2 separate regions of the Homo sapiens genome follow, and region 1 is linked to region 2. Evidence: promoter capture Hi-C in 16 types of primary human blood cells and fetal thymus (Javierre and others, 2016). All regions are on one chromosome and are shown on one strand. The core of a region is centred on a gene start or on the middle of the fragment in contact, and the rest is flanking DNA. Distances in the headings are between cores, read along the strand shown. Region 1 overlaps HMGB3 (high mobility group box 3). Region 2 holds the start of FMR1-AS1 (FMR1 antisense RNA 1).

Region 1 (7,403 bases), core at 2,226-4,725, 3.1 Mb after region 2:
GGCGGGCGGCTCGGAGGGCCGGGGGCGCCGCTGCGGGCCCTGGAGCGGCCGAGCGTCATGGCTGCACGGGCGCCTTTGTTATCCCGAGGAGTGCGCCCCGCGCCGGGGGGCGGGGAGGTCCGGCCCGGGCCCCCGAGCCCCCGGGCGGCCCGGGCGGGGCGGGGCGGGGCGGGGTGGGGGCCGACGGGCGGGCGGCGGCGGCGGGGCCCGGGCCGCTTTGTTCGCCGCTGTCGCCGCCGCCCGCGCCGGCCGCGCGCGGATCAGCCATTTTAGCGAGTGGGACTCCGAGGCGCGGCGGACGCCGCCACCAGTGCCGCGGCTGCCGCCGGCCCGGCCGCACACCCCCCGCGCACCGCCACCGCCGCCGCCCCCGGCCCCGCGCGTCCCCCGGGGATGACAGCGGCGGATTTCAGGGGCACTTTCTTTCATCAGGAGGCTTTTGACAAAATGGAAGGTGAATTACGGGTGTCCCGGTGACCCGGCACGGGGGCCGAGGCGGGCTGCCTGCTGCCGGCCGGGACTCCCCCGCTCCCGGTCCCGCCCCGCCCGGGCCGCCGCTGCGGGTCTCTGTTGGGCAGCCTCCTGGGCGGCTGCTGCCAAGGGGAGCTCTTTAGTTTTACATGATGACCTTGGGTGTGGGAAAAGGAAAAGATGGCGGGAAGCTGGGGGGTGGGACAGGGACGATGACATGCCGCAGCTGCATTTTTATTTGGAAACTTTGGAGAAAGTGTTCTCGGCTGGACCTGCATTCTGGGTTACAGATGAGCACGACTAGCCCTTTTTATACACCCTCCCCCTTTAGATAGTGACGAAGTGATGAATTGAACTAATAGTACGGGGGTACCTGCTCACTTTCCAGATCTCCCGTGTTGTAAAGCCGTTTTTTTAGTAAGCCAAAACACATCAACAATAGTGACAATTTCAGATGTCCCCTACGTATAGTTCTCCTGCTTTGGTCTTGTGTTCAGCAGTGGTAAGAGTTGTTGTTTTTAATTGTGTTAACAGTTAGCAGATGACCAGATAGTCTTAAGTCATAGATTTCAAGCTTCTATCACCCCCACCAAATGTGTCCTCTCTCTACCCTTCCCACTTTGTGATTGTAGTTTCCAAAACATAGCAGTTCTGTAAACGTAACACTGAGTACCCTACTTGGGTCGGCTCCATTTGGAGCACTTGATCGCTTTTGAGAAGTAACTCGCAAACCAGCGCGCTTCGTGCTGGTCAAAAGTTAAATGACAAGCGACAATGAAGCTGATTTCTTTCCTACTCTGCCTTCTGCCACTGGTGTCCGGCATTGGGGGAAGGGGACTTCCTAACAGCAAGTGTAGTTTTAGTTTTGCTCTGCCTTTGGTACGTCTTGTACTTCTTGTCAATTCCTCCTTGCTTTTCCTCATTGTATTTCTTTGTTTCTCTTTTATCACAGTCAGGATGGCTAAAGGTGACCCCAAGAAACCAAAGGGCAAGATGTCCGCTTATGCCTTCTTTGTGCAGACATGCAGAGAAGAACATAAGAAGAAAAACCCAGAGGTCCCTGTCAATTTTGCGGAATTTTCCAAGAAGTGCTCTGAGAGGTGGAAGGTATTTTTCTTTGGTACCCTTCAAACTAGTCTTAGTTGGGTTTCTTACTTTGGGGTTACTTACCTTCAGATTTTCTCCCAGATAGCTGCTTGCTTCCTCTTTTACTTTTACTTAGAATCATTTTTGCTTGTCTTAAGAATTTTGTGTGTGTGCTTTTATTTTTTTAAGGCCCTGCACAGGTTTCAGGCCTTTACCTACCCCCTTTTGCAAGTGGTTCTAGCAACTGCTAGTTTAATCACAAGAAACTGAATAGGTATGTGTTCACTGCATCGAGGGATTTAACGAGTCCTGTTCTTTGCAGACGATGTCCGGGAAAGAGAAATCTAAATTTGATGAAATGGCAAAGGCAGATAAAGTGCGCTATGATCGGGAAATGAAGGATTATGGACCAGCTAAGGGAGGCAAGAAGAAGAAGGATCCTAATGCTCCCAAAAGGCCACCGTAAGTGACTATAGGATTCAAGATAACAATTAATACCTTTTCTTCTGCTTGGAGGATTTGGTTTTTTGGTCGTCCTGTATTTCATTTCAAAATGAAATATTTTTTAAAAGATACTTAAAAGATGGCAATACCTCTGCAAACCATTCTGTACTTGGGCTTTACGATGCAGTGCCAGCGTTGTCTGTGGTTAAGGCTGAAGTGTTTGTGGGCTGTGCTTGCACATTCACAGTGGTTGTCTGTTGGCCTTTCCATTGTGAAGGAGGCACTCTAGTTTTGGTTGTCAGGGTCCTTGAAGTATGTTCTTTATGCCTTTCCTAGTAATTGAAAGACTGGGACAGCACCATATATATATGCGCGTATATATACGCATATGTATTATATATGCATACACACACACAGAGCACCATATATATATGCGCGTATATATACGCATATATTTTATATATGCATACACACACACACGCATACATATTTGAGATGGAGTTTCGCTCTTGACCAGGCTGGAGTGCAAGGTGTGATCTTGGCTCACTGCAACCTCCACCTCCTGGGTTCAAGTGATTCTCCTGCCTCAGCCTCCTGAGTAGCTGGGATTACAGACATGCACCACCATGCCCGGCTAATTTTTTTTATATTTTTAGTAGAGACGGGGTTTCTCCATGTTGGTCAGGCTGGTCTGAAACTCCCAACCTCAGGTGATCCGCCTGCCTCGGCCTCCCAAAGTGCTGGAATTACAGGCGTGAGCCGCGCACCACATATTTTTCTAACCTTATATATTTTAGAACCTACAACTTTGTAGCATTGTATATGGTATCATAGATTACTTCACTTTAGGGAGAAGTCATAGTGGTAGGAGGGAGATGCTTCTCAGGAATGTGGGATTTCAACTTTAACTCAAATTTTTTGTGGTTTCTCATGTAATGTATGTAATTCTTCCAAGGTCTGGATTCTTCCTGTTCTGTTCAGAATTCCGCCCCAAGATCAAATCCACAAACCCCGGCATCTCTATTGGAGACGTGGCAAAAAAGCTGGGTGAGATGTGGAATAATTTAAATGACAGTGAAAAGCAGCCTTACATCACTAAGGCGGCAAAGCTGAAGGAGAAGTATGAGAAGGTAAGGTGGGGCTGGAAGCCTGGACTGGTGAACAGGCAGTGGTTCTGCTATCAGTAGGTTGCAGGGCATGTGGCAGCTTTGCTGGGCTGAGTACTTAGCATAGCGCTCAAGGGCCCATCCCCCTGCAAGGTAGCTACGGGTGCTGGTGTTCATGCTTTTTTTTGACAGGTCTTTGTTTTGGGGACAACTTCAGGCTTGAAAAATTTTCCTTACTCTTTAAGGAAAAAAAAATGTTAACAGAGGATTTGATAGTCCTACTAATGTGACTTGAAGGACACTTGAACACCCACTAACTTTTAAATTCGAATGGCTAAGAACCAAATTCATATATGGAAACACTTCAGATATATATGATAGCAGCACTGTCTTACTTGATTTCAATTCCTGTCCTCTTACCTGAGATGAGGACTGCATGTTTCTACTTTGTGTTAAAACAGCCGCATACTCATTTGAAATGTGTCCCTGTTCCTCTAGGATGTTGCTGACTATAAGTCGAAAGGAAAGTTTGATGGTGCAAAGGGTCCTGCTAAAGTTGCCCGGAAAAAGGTGGAAGAGGAAGATGAAGAAGAGGAGGAGGAAGAAGAGGAGGAGGAGGAGGAGGAGGATGAATAAAGAAACTGTTTATCTGTCTCCTTGTGAATACTTAGAGTAGGGGAGCGCCGTAATTGACACATCTCTTATTTGAGAAGTGTCTGTTGCCCTCATTAGGTTTAATTACAAAATTTGATCACGATCATATTGTAGTCTCTCAAAGTGCTCTAGAAATTGTCAGTGGTTTACATGAAGTGGCCATGGGTGTCTGGAGCACCCTGAAACTGTATCAAAGTTGTACATATTTCCAAACATTTTTAAAATGAAAAGGCACTCTCGTGTTCTCCTCACTCTGTGCACTTTGCTGTTGGTGTGACAAGGCATTTAAAGATGTTTCTGGCATTTTCTTTTTATTTGTAAGGTGGTGGTAACTATGGTTATTGGCTAGAAATCCTGAGTTTTCAACTGTATATATCTATAGTTTGTAAAAAGAACAAAACAACCGAGACAAACCCTTGATGCTCCTTGCTCGGCGTTGAGGCTGTGGGGAAGATGCCTTTTGGGAGAGGCTGTAGCTCAGGGCGTGCACTGTGAGGCTGGACCTGTTGACTCTGCAGGGGGCATCCATTTAGCTTCAGGTTGTCTTGTTTCTGTATATAGTGACATAGCATTCTGCTGCCATCTTAGCTGTGGACAAAGGGGGGTCAGCTGGCATGAGAATATTTTTTTTTTTTAAGTGCGGTAGTTTTTAAACTGTTTGTTTTTAAACAAACTATAGAACTCTTCATTGTCAGCAAAGCAAAGAGTCACTGCATCAATGAAAGTTCAAGAACCTCCTGTACTTAAACACGATTCGCAACGTTCTGTTATTTTTTTTGTATGTTTAGAATGCTGAAATGTTTTTGAAGTTAAATAAACAGTATTACATTTTTAAAACTCTTCTCTATTATAACAGTCAATTTCTGACTCACAGCAGTGAACAAACCCCCACTCCATTGTATTTGGAGACTGGCCTCCCTATAAATGTGGTAGCTTCTTTTATTACTCAGTGGCCAGCTCACTTAGGGCTGAGATGAAGGAGAGGGCTACTTGAAGCTACTGTGTGATTTTGTTTGTGTCTGAGTGGCATTCAGATGAAGTCTGGAGGAGTTAGGAGAACGACATAGGCAAGGTTCAGCAGCCTTCCAAGGTATAGGAAGGTGGGTGATTAGGACTGAGGCTATCTAGGTTTAACTTTTGTCCCACCTCCACCCCCTATTTTGTGGGGCCAAATGCATTGCTAAACAGCAATTTCAGAGTGTATGGTGTGTCAAAAATTAAGGCCTTATTGTTTTTCTCTTTCACCCCTACCCCCCGTGCTCCTGGCACATATCACATTATTTGTGGTGCCCAACATTTGGGGTCTTGAGCCTGCTGCTGGTCTCCTGGATGCCAGTGAGGGTATGTGGGATGGGGTGGTGGGGTAGGGGACGGTATCCTTTTTTTGCTCCTACTTGGAAACACCAAACACCCCAAGGAAGATGATAGGCTCCATCTTGGGCCACCTGAGCTATAGGGCAGGCTAATGGAATCAACCATTTCTGAGCACTAAATGTATCATGAAAAGTTGAATGGCCTGCTCATAAGTTTAGCTCATTCACTGGAAATGTAGATTGATGTTCAATGTTAAACTGGAAGGAGCTTGGTTTGTGTGTCAGTGGTTATATTAGTGGGTAGTGTAACATTTTATCCAGGTTGGGGTGAGGGGAGATGGCCACAGTAGCAAGTGGTGACACTAAATACCATTTTGAAGGCTGATGTGTATATACATCATTACTGTCCGTAGCAATGAAGGATACAGTACTGTGTTGTGGGTGAGTGTTGCTATTGCCCAGCATTAATATTTGGGTGTGTATGTTTGAGGCTATGAAACACGCAGGAGTGTTTTTGTGCTATTAATTTTAAGAGAAAGCAGCTTTTTCTTAAAATTCACTGTTGAGAAACTTGCATGTCTGGAGGCGGTGTCCTCTCCGCCCTGTCGGGTCCTGGATGAGTACGAGTTATGGTCACGGTCACAGCCTGATCTCTTATGTGTTCATAGCCATTCGCTCTCCCATCAGAACTGTTTGTCCTGAATGTGTTCCTCTAGTTCTAGAAAATGACCACTAATTTAAAAAACTCGGTTGTGAGGTTTGCCCAGAGGCACTTGTTCCAGAATTTCCCCTCCTGCTTCAGCCATGTCCTTGTCACTTGGCATTCTAAGCTAAAGCTTTAGCTTCCCAATTCGTGATGTGCTAGGCCAAGATTCGGGAGCTGTTGCCAGCCTCGTCAAATATGGAAGAGAAACAACCTGCGGTCAAAAGGGAGTGATTTGTTAAGTGGTGCGCGTCTATCTCATAACTAGATGTACCAACCAGGGAAGGGCCAAGGATGGAAAGGGGTAACTTTTGTGCTTCCAAAGTAGCTAAGCAGAAGTGGGGGAGCAGTTTAGCCAGATGATCTTTGATTAGGCAAACATTGAGTTTTAAAGAGGCTGTCAAGTTGAGGCCACTTGGTCCATTAGCTGGGGCAGCAAGATCACTACTCAACGTTTTCACACTGTGGCAAGATTGCTCTTCTAGTGGAATAATGCCCTAGTTTCTCTGAGATGATGTAAGTGGCATGATGTTACCTAAGGCTTAGGCTTAGCTTGATTTCTGGGCCCACTGTCTGTGTTCTTAAGATGCCAACCTGTTGCTTTTTTTTTTTTTTTCCCCCATTTAAAAGGATAGTACCTACTCCCTCTAACCACCTCACCCCATTCTTGAATGACATTTTATCCTTCGGAAAGAACAAGGCTGTGATGTAGTGACTATTGTCTGTGTCTCCTGTGTGTGTCTGTTCTTGTCACAAATGTATTTGGGGACGTTGGATGCATTCATTTTCTGTAATAAAGTTTCTTAATCACTCTTCCCAAAAAGTAATCAGTGGGCTGTCTGCGATCTGTCTGAGATACTGAACCTCTGTACTTTTGGTTGATTATCATCAAGGTTTTAGAAGTGCAAACTTTGTGGTAACCATAGATCTGAACTACTAACATTTAGTGGAATGATACCATCAAAATGACTTAAGTGTTAAGGACTCCAAAGCCCCAAGATCAACCTCCTGGCCCGAGGCATAAGGGGGAGTTGGCTCTGAAGCCCTGGACCAGGATAAATAGGCAATTTGCAGGATGCTAACGAGCTACTATTTGATAAAGTGGTTGGGTACTTGTAATCAGCCAGCCCTGCCCACAGGGCTCCTCGAGGCCAAGGGTCTGGGCTTAGTTGGCTGACTCAGCCATGCCCAACAAGGAGTTCTGGAGGAGAGCCACAGGGACCGCTTGCTGTTCTTGGCTCCCAGCTCAGTTTTCTGTGGAGCCCAAGGCTACCTGGTAAGGAAAGGCCATTGAGCCAGCTTGGCGGCCCCAAGCTTCCCTTACTGCTTCAACCAGAGCAGCCTCCCACCCTGTTTTATATGTTGGGCATCCTACGATTTCAGCTTTCAAAAGAAGCTGGGATACCATATCAATAAAAGGAAAAAGACACACATGATCATCTCAATAGACACAAAAACCTTGACAAACACTTTCATGATAAAAACAAGGGTAGAAGGGAACTTCCTCAACCTGATATAGGACGTTTAGGAAAACCCATGGGTTTATTCATGATTGTACTAGAAGTTCTAGCCAGGGCAATTAGGCAAAAGAAAAAGAAAACATCCAGACTGAAATTGAGAAGACAA
Region 2 (6,406 bases), core at 1,000-3,499:
AGAAATATAAATAAATTATTCTAGTACACTAACCATCATAGTAGAGGTATTCAACATTTGTTGAGTCTCTGCTATATGCCAAGCAGTGTAATGAGGAAGCAGAGGGTATGCACAAAGTTCTACAAGAGCACAAAATAAGTTCTGGCAAAGGTTTGTAAAGACATTCACAAGGGTTTTCACCACAGTATGACTTCAGGGAGTTGGCAGTAACCTAGATGCCCGATCAGTAGGGATATGTATGAATAAAATTTCTGGCATACTCGGTAGCAAACTAGGTGTACACACAGCAATGTGGGTATAGCTCAAAAACAGACTGTTGAGTAAAACAGTGGGAAATAGAGATTTACAGTCCAATACCATCTCTGTAAATGCAAGAGGCATAAACAAAACATTATCTGTGTTAAATTATCAAGGATCTCTATCGAACATATTGCAGCTTGTGTCTAGAAGAATGAGAGTGGGGATCGAGAAAGATGAGGAAAAAATAATATAAACACTATAAAATAATGTAAACAAGGACCCTGTAGGGACTGATATGACAATGTGCTGAAAATTGAGGAGCAAAGTTAACTCTCTGTACCTGAGATAAAATAACTAGCTAATAGGAATCCAGCTGAAAACCTTAAGGTGCAGGGCCTCTATGGGGCCCAGGAAGGATGTGTAGAGACATGAACGGATGAAAGTGCATCACAGGTTCAGGGAACAACACAGGTTGAGTGTGGCTTGTAGTAAAAATGGTTGTGAAGAGTTGACATATTTTTAAGCCCTGGGTAAATTGAACAACAGCTTACACTTGGAGGGGTATAATCATTCTAATCAATGTGTCCCCTTTTACTATAATACATTGGAGTTGCAGCTAATGCTCTGCTCCCATTCAGCCTATGATGAGATTCTCTTTCAGCCCTATTGGGTTCTTGGCCTCATGTGACTACTCCAAAGACCCTAGTCCAAAAGGTCTTTCCTGTTTGCTATGGCCTTGAGGAATGTGGCCCTAGATCCACCGCTTTAAAGCTGGAGTTCCACCAGCAGCAACATCCTCTCATTCTGGGGCACCTGCCTGGGGCAGGTCATCCTGCCTCTGCCAACTCAGTGCTATTAGTTAACTCTCACCTGCCATATTCCAGCTGGAATCATCTCCCCTTCTCCACCCCAGACTAGGTCATGTTCCGCCATCATGGAAGCGCCTATTCTTCATACCCCTTATCACAGCTGCAACTACTCATTTACTTGTCTGACAATTTGATTTATGTCCACCTACTTTGCTAGGTACTAAGTTCAATGCTGGCAGTCGTTTCTTCTTTTTTTTTCTTTTCTGTTTTGCTCACCGATTTCTCGTTAGCACTTAGCACAGTGTCTGGCACACGATAGATGCTCCGTCAACTTCTCAGTTGGATACCAGCATCCCGAAGGGAACATGGATTAAGGCAGCTATAAGCACGGTGTAAAAACAGGAATAAGAAAAAGTTGAGGTTTGTTTCACAGTGGAATGTAAAGGGTTGCAAGGAGGTGCATCGGCCCCTGTGGACAGGACGCATGACTGCTACACACGTGTTCACCCCACCCTCTGGCACAGGGTGCACATACAGTAGGGGCAGAAATGAACCTCAAGTGCTTAACACAATTTTTAAAAAATATATAGTCAAGTGAAAGTATGAAAATGAGTTGAGGAAAGGCGAGTACGTGGGTCAAAGCTGGGTCTGAGGAAAGGCTCACATTTTGAGATCCCGACTCAATCCATGTCCCTTAAAGGGCACAGGGTGTCTCCACAGGGCCGCCCAAAATCTGGTGAGAGAGGGCGTAGACGCCTCACCTTCTGCCTCTACGGGTCACAAAAGCCTGGGTCACCCTGGTTGCCACTGTTCCTAGTTCAAAGTCTTCTTCTGTCTAATCCTTCACCCCTATTCTCGCCTTCCACTCCACCTCCCGCTCAGTCAGACTGCGCTACTTTGAACCGGACCAAACCAAACCAAACCAAACCAAACCAAACCAGACCAGACACCCCCTCCCGCGGAATCCCAGAGAGGCCGAACTGGGATAACCGGATGCATTTGATTTCCCACGCCACTGAGTGCACCTCTGCAGAAATGGGCGTTCTGGCCCTCGCGAGGCAGTGCGACCTGTCACCGCCCTTCAGCCTTCCCGCCCTCCACCAAGCCCGCGCACGCCCGGCCCGCGCGTCTGTCTTTCGACCCGGCACCCCGGCCGGTTCCCAGCAGCGCGCATGCGCGCGCTCCCAGGCCACTTGAAGAGAGAGGGCGGGGCCGAGGGGCTGAGCCCGCGGGGGGAGGGAACAGCGTTGATCACGTGACGTGGTTTCAGTGTTTACACCCGCAGCGGGCCGGGGGTTCGGCCTCAGTCAGGCGCTCAGCTCCGTTTCGGTTTCACTTCCGGTGGAGGGCCGCCTCTGAGCGGGCGGCGGGCCGACGGCGAGCGCGGGCGGCGGCGGTGACGGAGGCGCCGCTGCCAGGGGGCGTGCGGCAGCGCGGCGGCGGCGGCGGCGGCGGCGGCGGCGGAGGCGGCGGCGGCGGCGGCGGCGGCGGCGGCTGGGCCTCGAGCGCCCGCAGCCCACCTCTCGGGGGCGGGCTCCCGGCGCTAGCAGGGCTGAAGAGAAGATGGAGGAGCTGGTGGTGGAAGTGCGGGGCTCCAATGGCGCTTTCTACAAGGTACTTGGCTCTAGGGCAGGCCCCATCTTCGCCCTTCCTTCCCTCCCTTTTCTTCTTGGTGTCGGCGGGAGGCAGGCCCGGGGCCCTCTTCCCGAGCACCGCGCCTGGGTGCCAGGGCACGCTCGGCGGGATGTTGTTGGGAGGGAAGGACTGGACTTGGGGCCTGTTGGAAGCCCCTCTCCGACTCCGAGAGGCCCTAGCGCCTATCGAAATGAGAGACCAGCGAGGAGAGGGTTCTCTTTCGGCGCCGAGCCCCGCCGGGGTGAGCTGGGGATGGGCGAGGGCCGGCGGCAGGTACTAGAGCCGGGCGGGAAGGGCCGAAATCGGCGCTAAGTGACGGCGATGGCTTATTCCCCCTTTCCTAAACATCATCTCCCAGCGGGATCCGGGCCTGTCGTGTGGGTAGTTGTGGAGGAGCGGGGGGCGCTTCAGCCGGGCCGCCTCCTGCAGCGCCAAGAGGGCTTCAGGTCTCCTTTGGCTTCTCTTTTCCGGTCTAGCATTGGGACTTCGGAGAGCTCCACTGTTCTGGGCGAGGGCTGTGAAGAAAGAGTAGTAAGAAGCGGTAGTCGGCACCAAATCACAATGGCAACTGATTTTTAGTGGCTTCTCTTTGTGGATTTCGGAGGAGATTTTAGATCCAAAAGTTTCAGGAAGACCCTAACATGGCCCAGCAGTGCATTGAAGAAGTTGATCATCGTGAATATTCGCGTCCCCCTTTTTGTTAAACGGGGTAAATTCAGGAATGCACATGCTTCAGCGTCTAAAACCATTAGCAGCGCTGCTACTTAAAAATTGTGTGTGTGTGTTTAAGTTTCCAAAGACCTAAATATATGCCATGAAACTTCAGGTAATTAACTGAGAGTATATTATTACTAGGGCATTTTTTTTTTAACTGAGCGAAAATATTTTTGTGCCCCTAAGAACTTGACCACATTTCCTTTGAATTTGTGGTGTTGCAGTGGACTGAATTGTTGAGGCTTTATATAGGCATTCATGGGTTTACTGTGCTTTTTAAAGTTACACCATTGCAGATCAACTAACACCTTTCAGTTTTAAAAGGAAGATTTACAAATTTGATGTAGCAGTAGTGCGTTTGTTGGTATGTAGGTGCTGTATAAATTCATCTATAAATTCTCATTTCCTTTTGAATGTCTATAACCTCTTTCAATAATATCCCACCTTACTACAGTATTTTGGCAATAGAAGGTGCGTGTGGAAGGAAGGCTGGAAAATAGCTATTAGCAGTGTCCAACACAATTCTTAAATGTATTGTAGAATGGCTTGAATGTTTCAGACAGGACACGTTTGGCTATAGGAAAATAAACAATTGACTTTATTCTGTGTTTACCAATTTTATGAAGACATTTGGAGATCAGTATATTTCATAAATGAGTAAAGTATGTAAACTGTTCCATACTTTGAGCACAAAGATAAAGCCTTTTGCTGTAAAAGGAGGCAAAAGGTAACCCCGCGTTTATGTTCTTAACAGTCTCATGAATATGAAATTGTTTCAGTTGACTCTGCAGTCAAAATTTTAATTTCATTGATTTTATTGATCCATAATTTCTTCTGGTGAGTTTGCGTAGAATCGTTCACGGTCCTAGATTAGTGGTTTTGGTCACTAGATTTCTGGCACTAATAACTATAATACATATACATATATATGTGTGAGTAACGGCTAATGGTTAGGCAAGATTTTGATTGACCTGTGATATAAACTTAGATTGGATGCCACTAAAGTTTGCTTATCACAGAGGGCAAGTAGCACATTATGGCCTTGAAGTACTTATTGTTCTCTTCCAGCAACTTATGATTTGCTCCAGTGATTTTGCTTGCACACTGACTGGAATATAAGAAATGCCTTCTATTTTTGCTATTAATTCCCTCCTTTTTTGTTTTGTTTTGTAACGAAGTTGTTTAACTTGAAGGTGAATGAAGAATAGGTTGGTTGCCCCTTAGTTCCCTGAGGAGAAATGTTAATACTTGAACAAGTGTGTGTCAGACAAATTGCTGTTATGTTTATTTAATTAAGTTTGATTTCTAAGAAAATCTCAAATGGTCTGCACTGATGGAAGAACAGTTTCTGTAACAAAAAAGCTTGAAATTTTTATATGACTTATAATACTGCTGTGAGTTTTAAAAGTAAAGCAAAAGTAAACTGAGTTGCTTGTCCAGTGGGATGGACAGGAAAGATGTGAAATAAAAACCAATGAAAAATGAACTGCTGTGGAGAAGTGTTACATTTATGGAAAAAGAAATAGGAACCTTGTTCATCAAATTGATAGAAAAGCTTTTAAAACTAAACAAATCAAACAACTTGAGTATAATGGAATTCAGACTTTGATTTGCCTAACATAACCACCATATTTGCAAGGACAGCTCTCTATCTTCTGGTGTTTATTCTTAAAAACTTAAAAGTTAGATTTAGCGATCACCAGAGCCACTACTTTTATGCTTAGGTATTTGTTTGACTTAGAAAAAATTGGTCACGTGTACCACTTTATAGTGCCCTGCAGGTGTTAAGATATGAAGGCACTTTGACTTACACCTCATAAAATCTTTACAAAGTATTTTCTAAATGAATAATGATGAAATAAAGTCTTTATTCTAGGTGCATCTGCCCCACATAATTTGTTTTCTTTGGACTAGAAGTTTTGATGTGTTGAGAATGGTAATGAATTAACTCCATTTTAAATGTAGAATGCGTATCACTCCAATATGAATGCCCTAATGAATCCTAAGATTTGTAGGTTTTGTGTACTAGTATGAAAATTACTAAAGATGGAAAAATCACATGTTGGAGACATAAGATACAAACCTTTTTGTTTTCTGAAAATACAACCTCTGATTTCTGATTCCTTGTTGTAATATGGTGTAATTATACTAGATTGTAATTTTGTTGTTAGATTATACTTTTTTAAGTTCAGTGTTTGAGGACAGACTTTCATTTGGTTAGTAGTATTATGGCAGCTAGCAGCTAAATATGATAAAGTGTACAATCAAAAGGATATTTTTAATGAAGATATTAGTGGTCTAACATGTCATTTCAGATACATAGCTGAAATGTAGTAAAATCAGTTTTACTACAAATAAACTTGCATAAGGTTTATAAATTTATAAGTTTATAAATCAACTTGGGTAAAGTGTAAATAAACTTGCACTCGTGGTTTCTCTGAAGTCTCCTGAGCTAACTTTGCATAAAGGTGTTATTCTGTACTTCGAGGAAGTGAATTATTGGGGTCAACCACATTTTTTTTCCTTCCTACAGTCTGATTGCCCTTTTTAGTTTTTAGGATCTTTGTGGCTGCATCATTTTTCCCCTTTTGAACTGTGCATTTTCTAACCCCATACTTAAATATTCTCATAACCTCCAAATTATTAATTAGATGCAACATTCAGTGGTATATTACTGGAGTTTCTGATTTCTGCCCACTATAGGAATGTGCTTCCTGAGAAGATTGGGATCGTGATTATAATAATAGTTAACAGGGGATGAGTACTTTCTAGGTGCCAGGCACTGTTCTCTCTGATACTTTATTTGATGTATTGTTGTTATTCCCATTCTTTAAATGATGCACAGAGAGGTTAGGTAAGTGACTTACTACCAAGTGTCAGGGCCATTAAGGGTCAGGATTCTGAATTCCTGAAATGATGAAATTTAGCTTGAAGAAATTGGTTTGATTTCCTGCTTAGTTTTCAATTTCATGGTGGTCTTTGATTGTATTTTGTGCTATAACACTGCC

What was found. Contacts are between HindIII fragments. The CHiCAGO score rates a contact against its expected background, and 5 or more counts as called.
Region 1: a contact is called between a fragment that was not itself captured here and the fragment with the promoter of FMR1-AS1 in region 2, in 2 of 17 cell types (non-activated CD4 T cells and total CD4 T cells). The highest score is 6.6, in non-activated CD4 T cells.

The regions. Positions count from the first base shown.
Region 1 is chrX:150,984,172-150,991,574 of GRCh38, forward strand. HMGB3 (high mobility group box 3) reads left to right here. Exons shown (of 5, transcript NM_005342.4): 2 at 1,424-1,578; 3 at 1,880-2,019; 4 at 2,957-3,131; 5 at 3,606-6,600. The coding sequence starts at 1,429. The coding sequence ends at 3,743. Among named protein-coding and RNA genes, the nearest start is that of HMGB3, 4.5 kb to the left of the region's middle. The HindIII fragment of the contact is 4,865 bases long and covers 1,044-5,908 here.
Region 2 is chrX:147,909,568-147,915,973 of GRCh38, forward strand. FMR1-AS1 (FMR1 antisense RNA 1) reads right to left here and starts at 2,250. Exons shown (of 2, transcript NR_024503.3): 1 at 2,075-2,250; 2 at 1-1,428. It overlaps FMR1 (fragile X messenger ribonucleoprotein 1), which reads left to right and starts at 2,352. Exons shown (of 17, transcript NM_002024.6): 1 at 2,352-2,663. The coding sequence starts at 2,613. RefSeq lists enhancers at 1,883-2,092, 2,673-2,772 and a silencer at 2,173-2,512. The HindIII fragment of the contact is 5,224 bases long and covers 1-4,758 here.